2 separate regions of the Homo sapiens genome follow, and region 1 is linked to region 2. The links are contacts of gene promoters, found by promoter capture Hi-C in human tissues and cell types (Jung and others, 2019). All regions are on one chromosome and are shown on one strand. The core of a region is centred on a gene start or on the middle of the fragment in contact, and the rest is flanking DNA. Distances in the headings are between cores, read along the strand shown. Region 1 holds the start of PDCD7 (programmed cell death 7). Region 2 has its middle 21 kb from the start of OAZ2.

The links. Contacts are between HindIII fragments. The study calls those that stand out against the background at their distance.
Region 1: a contact is called between the fragment with the promoter of PDCD7 here and a fragment that was not itself captured in region 2, in 2 of the 25 tissues and cell types used here (dorsolateral prefrontal cortex and spleen).

The regions. Positions count from the first base shown.
Region 1 is chr15:65,132,413-65,136,139 of GRCh38, reverse strand. It overlaps PDCD7 (programmed cell death 7), which reads left to right and starts at 2,332. Exons shown (of 5, transcript NM_005707.2): 1 at 2,332-3,228. The coding sequence starts at 2,359. RefSeq lists an enhancer at 2,047-2,146 and silencers at 2,437-2,646, 2,707-3,106. The HindIII fragment of the contact is 7,758 bases long and covers 1-3,727 here.
Region 2 is chr15:64,722,012-64,725,715 of GRCh38, reverse strand. No RefSeq gene overlaps it. Among named protein-coding and RNA genes, the nearest start is that of OAZ2, 21 kb to the right of the region's middle. The HindIII fragment of the contact is 6,629 bases long and covers 1-3,704 here.

The DNA of each region.
Region 1 (3,727 bases), core at 1,083-3,582, 410 kb before region 2:
GGAGAAACCACGTCTCTATTAAAAATACAAAATTAGTCGGGCATGGTGGTGTGTGCCTGTAATCCCAGCTACTCAGGAGTCTGAGGCAGGAGAATTGCTTGAACCTGGGAGGTGGCGGTTGTGGTTAGCCGAGATCGCGCCATTGCACTCCAGCCTGGGCAACAAGAGTGAGACTTGGTCTCAAAACAACAACAACAACAACAAAATAGTTTCCCATTGTTCATAAGATATGAGACCCCAGACATTAGGACTTCACTTCACCAGGATCACCAGACTCCTCTCAGAGCTCCATCCATAACTCGCATTCTTTTTTTTTTTTGGAGACAAGGTCTCGCTCTGTCTCCCAGACTGGAGTTCAGTGGTGTGATCTCGGCTCACTGCAACCTCCACGTCCTGGGTTAAAGCAATTCTCCTGCCTCAGCCTCCCCAGTAGCTGGGATTACGGGCACGCACCACCACACCTGGCTAATTTTTGTGTTTTAGTAGAGACAGGAATTCACCATATTGCCCAGGCTGGCCTTGAACTCCTGAGCTCAGGCAATCCACCCGCCTCGGCCTCCCAAAGTGCTGGGATTACAGGCCAAAACTGGCATTCTATCAGGCTTCCCACTAGACATAGTCCTGTAACCTAAGGCAGGTCCAGTTCCCTGCAGCTTGCAAATTCAAATAACAAGTAAGAGAATGGTAAAAAGAAAGTGACTGCCACGGGCACGGTGGCTCACGCCTGTAATCCCAACATGATCCAAGGCAGGCGGATCATGAGGTCAGGAGATCGAGACCATCCTGGCTAACATGGTGAAACCCCATCTCCACTAAAAATACAAAAAAATTAGCCAGGCATGGTGGTGGGCACCTGTAATCCCAGCTACTCGGGAGGCTGAGGCAGAAGAATGGCATGAACCCAGGAGGCAGAGCTTACAATGAGCCAAGATCACGCCACTGCACTCCAGCCTGGGCGACACAGGGAGACTCTGTCTCATAAAAAAAAAAAAAGAAAGAAAGTGGCCAGGTGTGGTGGCTCACACCTGTAACCCCAGCACTTTGGGAGGCCAAGGTGGACGGATCACCTGATGTAAGGAGTTTACGACCAGCCTAGCCAGCATTGTGAAACCCCCTCTCTACTAAAAACACAAAAATTAGCCAGGCGTGGCAGCAGGGGTCTATAATCCCAGCAACTGACTAGGGAGGCTGAGGCACCAAGAATAACTGGAACCTGGGATGCAGTGGTTGCAGTGAGTGGAGAGTGCGTCATTGCACTCCAGCCTGGGTGACAGAGGGACTCTGTCTCAAAAAAAGTGGGGGGTGCACGGGACTTGGTTGACCTGGATGGCATGCAAGGGGTGGGGAGGGACCAAGGAGGTGCTGGGTCTATGGGACTTGCTCCTATGTATCCATCAGTGATCTGGTTGGCGCCATGGAGGCTGGGGCGAAGGCGGAGGGGGGGTGGGGGGTAGCGGGGAGCTAGGTTGTAAATTGACAGTTGTCCCCAGGCAATCCCCTGGTATGGGAAAGTTCCAGAGGTCCCTGGTTTAAGCTTCGGTCCTTGGAACTAATAAGCGAACACATAATTAGATAAGCTTACAGTGTAGAGAGTGTCTGGTGGAGAGAAGGTAAAGGTTAATTGGATTTTTTTTTTTGACAGGTGTCATTCTGTCGCCCAGGGTGGAGTGCAGTGGCGTTATCGTGGCTCATTGCAGTCTTTACCTCCCAGGGCTCAGGTGATCCTCCCACCTCAGCCTCCCCAATGGCTGGGACTACAGGCCGATCTCGCCTGCCTCGGCCTCCCAAAGTGCTGGGATTACAGACGTGAGCCACAGCACCCACCCTATAATTGCATTCCTAAAGAGCTAAATAGGAGGTGGGGTGAAAGGAGAAAAGTAAAAATAATTCATTTTTCTAAGAAAATGGGTAGTTGGTCACACTCCTATTTACTAGGGCCTTTGCACATGTTCTCATCTGCACTGTGCTTCCCTCTCTTTTTCTATTTAACTATTTATCTTCCAGATCTCAGCTGCAGCCGCAGTTTCTTAGGATAACCTTCTCCAACTTCTCGAAGATACTCACCATGATTAATTGATTAGTGTGTTATACTAGGCAGATAGTTCCACGAAGAGAAGCTCTGTATCTCTCAGTCTCACTGTATGCGGAGTGGGTAGCTCTGCACCTAGGATGCTCAATAAGAACGGTATTTATGAACTGAACGACAGAAGGTTGAACGACTGCCCACTTATGCACTGAGCCTTCCGGAGGGACGAGTCTACAGGGGTCGCGCGTCGTAACGACGTCACTTCCGTCGGAAGGTTCTCATGAGGAGCCACTCAGATTCCTGTCACTTCTCAAAGCATCTCCGTCGTGAACATGGCCCTGCCACCATTCTTCGGCCAGGGTCGCCCAGGCCCACCGCCCCCGCAGCCGCCGCCTCCTGCTCCTTTCGGCTGTCCGCCACCGCCGCTGCCCTCCCCGGCTTTCCCGCCGCCTCTCCCCCAGCGGCCCGGCCCTTTTCCGGGGGCCTCCGCCCCCTTCCTTCAGCCTCCGCTGGCTCTGCAGCCCCGAGCCTCCGCGGAGGCCTCCCGCGGCGGAGGCGGCGCTGGCGCCTTCTACCCGGTGCCACCACCGCCGCTGCCTCCTCCGCCGCCCCAGTGTCGGCCCTTCCCGGGGACCGACGCCGGCGAGCGGCCGCGGCCACCGCCTCCCGGCCCGGGGCCGCCCTGGAGCCCGCGGTGGCCTGAGGCGCCGCCGCCGCCGGCCGACGTGCTCGGGGATGCGGCCCTCCAACGCCTGCGCGACCGGCAGTGGCTGGAGGCGGTGTTCGGGACCCCGCGGCGGGCAGGCTGTCCGGTGCCCCAGCGCACGCATGCCGGGCCCAGCCTTGGCGAAGTGCGCGCGCGATTGCTCCGGGCTCTGCGCCTGGTGCGGCGGCTGCGCGGCCTGAGCCAGGCCCTGCGCGAGGCCGAAGCCGACGGCGCGGCCTGGGTCCTGCTGTACTCCCAGACCGCGCCGCTGCGCGCGGAACTGGCCGAGCGGCTACAGCCGTTGACCCAGGCTGCCTATGTGGGCGAGGCGCGGAGGAGGCTGGAGAGGGTCCGGCGCCGCCGGCTGCGGCTTCGCGAGAGGGCCCGGGAACGCGAGGCCGAGCGGGAGGCAGAGGCCGCGCGGGCAGTGGAACGCGAGCAGGAGATTGACCGCTGGAGGGTGAAGTGTGTGCAGGAGGTGGAGGAGAAGAAGCGGGTGAGAGCAGCGGCCGCTCATGGGGGTAGGAGTGGTGGTGGTTGGAACCTGGAGCAGCAGGAGGCTTTAAACTTCCATTTCCCAGGGCTAAGCCTCTGTTTTACGCGCAAAATGAAGCGATAGCTAACCTTCCCAGCTCATACCACCATGTTAATTTTGTGTTAATGATGTGTGGTACACAAAAGTTCCAGGTGCACTGTAAAATCCTGTAAACACAAAGTATAGGATTACACGGTGGCACTGCACGAATGACAGGTCTCCCCTATCCTGCTCCAACATTGTCCACTTACTCTCAAAACCAGTAAGTGTCTAGTTCCTTGTGTCTTGTACTGCCCTAGGTGGTTTTAAGAATACAAAATACAGGCCGGGCGCGGTGGCCCACGCCTGTAATCCCAGCACTTTGGGAGGCGGAGGCGGGTGGATCACGAGGTCAGGAGTTCAAGACCAGCCTGGCCAAGATGGTGAAACCCCGTCTCTACTAAAAATACAAAAATTAGCC
Region 2 (3,704 bases), core at 240-2,739:
TGAGACAAGTTCTCACCCTGTTGCCCAGACTGGAGTGCAGTGGTGAGATCATGGCTCACTGAAGCCTCGACCTCTCAGGCTCAAGTGATCCTCCCACCTCAACTGCCTGAATAGATGGGATTACAGGCATGTGCCATCACATCTGCCTAATTTTTGTATTTTTATTTTTATTTACTTGTTTATTTTTTTGAGAGAGTCACCCTCTGTCACCCAGGCTGAAGTGCAGTGGCACGATCTCGGCTCACTGCAACCTCTGCCTCCTGGGTTCCAGTGATTCTCCCTCACTCTCCCGAGTAGCTGGGATTAAGGTGCACGCCACCACACCGGGTTAATTTTTTTTTTTTTTTTTTTTGAGATGGAGTCTTGCTCTGTCGCCCAGGCTGGAGTGCAGTGGTTGGGATTACAGGTGCGCACCACCACACCTGGCTATTTTTTTTTTTTTTTTTTTTTTTGAGACATAGTCTCGCTCTGTCACCCAGGCTGGAGTGCAGTGGCTCGATCTCGGCTCACTGCAACCTCCGCCTCCTGGGTTCAAGTGATTCTCCTGCCTCGGCCTCCTGAGTAGCTGGGACTACAGGTGCAAGCCACCATGCCCAGATAATTTTTGTGTTTTTAGTAGAGACGGGGTTTCACCATGTTGGTCAGGCTGTTCTGGAACTCCTGACCTTGTGATCTGCCCGCCTCGACCTCTCAAAGTGCTGGGATTACAGGCATGAGCCACCGCACCTGGCCTAATTTTTTGTGTTTTTAGTAGAGACGGTGTTTTGCTATGTTGGCCAGGCTGGTCTTAGACCTCTTGCCTGAAGTGATCCTCCCGCCTCAGCCTCCCAAAGTGTGGGATTACAGGTGTGAGCCATCGTGCCTGGCTAATTTTTGTATTTTTAGTAGAGATGGGGTTTTGCCATGTTGCTCCGGTTGGTCTCAAACTCCTGGGCTTAAGTGATCCACCTACCTCAGCCTCCCAAAGTGCTAGGATTATAGGCATGAGCCATCATGCCTGGCCCTTCATCCTAGATCTTAGGAGATCTAGTATGTTGTTGATCTGGTATTTGGTATGTTGGAGATCTGGTATTTGGTATGTTGGGAGATCTTGTATTTGGTATGTTGGGAGAGCTGGTATTTGGTATGTTAGGTGATCTGGTATTTGGTATGTTGGAGATCTGGTATTTGGTATGTTGGAGATCTGGTATTTGGTATGTTGGTGATCTGGTATTCGGTATGTTGGGAGATCTGGTATTTGGTTTGTTGGTGATCTGGTATTTGGTTTGTTGGTTGATCTGATATTTGGTATGTTGGGAGATCTGGTATTTGGTATGCTAGGTGATCTGGTATTTAGTATGTTGGAGATCTGGTATTTGGTATGTTGGAGATCTGGTATTTGGTATGTTGGAGATCTGGTATTTGGTATGTTGGTGATCTGGTATTTGGTATGTTGGTGATCTGGTATTTGGTATGTTGGGAGATCTGGTATTTGGTTTGTTGGTGATCTGGTATTTGGTTTGTTGGTTGATCTGATGTTTGGTATGTTGGGAGATCTGGTATTTGGTATATTGTCTTGATGTGTAAAAATCTCTGGGAATTCAAACAGAAACAGTTTGAAATAGTGATTTCAATATTGAGAAAGTGAATGACTCAAATGACTGTATTATAGATCCTTTCTACAAACTAAAGCTTTCCCAATATTTTGCTTTTGAATGGAAGGACCTGAAACAAATTTTGTTGTCATCTGCTTGATGATTAGGTGGTATTGAGTGACTCTGCTAGAACTTCTTCCTTTCCCAGGTACTTATGTGAATAAGATACCTCAGCATTACCATGTGTGAGATTGAAACGTTGAAATAAAATTGAGCCTAGCCAGGTGTGGCGGTATGTACCTGTAGTCCCAGCTACTCAGGAGACTGAGGCAGGAGGATCACTTGAGCCTAGAAGTTTGAGGCTGCAGTGAACTACGATCATGCCTGTGAATAGCTACTGCACTCCAGCCTGGGCAACACAGTCAGACTGTCTCAAAAAAAAAAAAAAAAAAAAAAGACAACAATAACAACGAAAACACAGCCTAAGCATAATGGCTCATACCTGTAATCCCAGCACTTTGAGAGGCCAAGGCTTGAGCCCAGGAGACCAGCCTGGGCAACAAAGTGAGTCCCTGTCTCTACAAAAAATTAGTTGAGCATGGTCATGCACACCTGTATTCCCATGTACGTGGGAGGCTGAGGCAGGAGACTGCCTGAGCCCAAGAGGTCGAGGCTGCAGTGAACCACATTTGCACCACTGCACTCCAGCCTAGGCAACAGAGCAAGACTCTGTCTCAGAAAAACAACCAACCAGCCAACAAAAACATTGATGCTTATCACTGTCTCACTCTAGCATGAGAACATCTCTCTCAATATAAGTTGTATTTCCTATACAATTTTGTGTCTTATATTTAAGAATTCTTGGCCGGGTGCAGTTGCTCACGCCTGTAATCCTAGCTAGCACTTTGGGAGTCTGAGGTGGGTGGATCACCTGAGGTCAGGAGTTTGAGACTAGCCTGACCAACATGGAGAAACCCTGTCTCTACTAATAATACAAAAATTAGCTGGGCGTGGTGGTGCATGCCTATAATCCCAGCTACTCGGGAGGCTGAGGCAGGAGAATCGCTGGAACCCGGGAGGCAGAGCTTGCGGTGAGCTGATATCGCGCCACTGCACTCCAGTCTGGGCAACAAGAGTGAAACTCCATCTTGGGGGAAAAAAAAAATGCTGGGCGCAGTGGCTCACGCCTATAATCCCAGCACTTTGGGAGGCTGAGGTGGGTGGATCACCTGAGGTCAGGTGTTCAAGATCTGCCTGGCCAACATGGTGAAACCCTGTCTCTGCTCAAAATTCAAAAATTAGCTGGGCGTGGTGGCAGGCACCTATAATCCCAGCTACTGGGGAGGCTGAGGCTGGAGAATCGCTTGAACCCGGGAGGCGGAGATTGCTGTAAGCTGAGATTGTGCCATTGCACTCCAGCCTGGGCTGGGCAACACAGCAAGACTGCATCTCAAAAAAAAAAAAAAAAAAAAAAAAGGGATAAAGTACATATTGTATTAGGAAAGCATTATGTGAGAGAAGTAAAAAGAAAATACAAGTTCAAGGAGAAAAAGGAGTGATGTAAAATTTCCTGTGCTAAAGAACAGCTTACTTTTTCTTTTTTTCTTTCTTTCTTTTTTTTTTTTTTTTGAGAGGGAGTCTCACTCTGTCGCCCAGGCTAGAGTGCAGTGGCATGATCTTGGCTCACTGCAACTTCCGACACCTGGGTTCAAGCGATTCTCTTGCCTCAGCCTCCCAAGCAGCTGGGATTACATGCACACGCCACCACGCCTGGCTATTTTTTGTATTTTTAGTAGAGACAGGGTTTCACCATGTTGGCCAGGCTGGTCTCAAACTCCTGACCTCAAGTGATCCGCCCGCCTCTGCCTCTCAAAGCGCTGGGATTACAGGCGTGAGCCACTGCACCTGGCCTCTTTTTCTTTCTTTTTTTTGAGACAGAGTCTCACTCTGTCACCCAGGCTGGAGTGCACTGGGTTGATCTCAACTCACTGCAATCTCTGCCTCCGAGGTTCAAGCAATTCTAATGCCTCAGCCTCCTGAGTTGTTGGGATTACAGGTACGCATCACCATGCCCGGCTAATTTTTGTACTTTTAGTAGAGATGGGGTTTTGCTTTGTTGGCCAGGCTGGA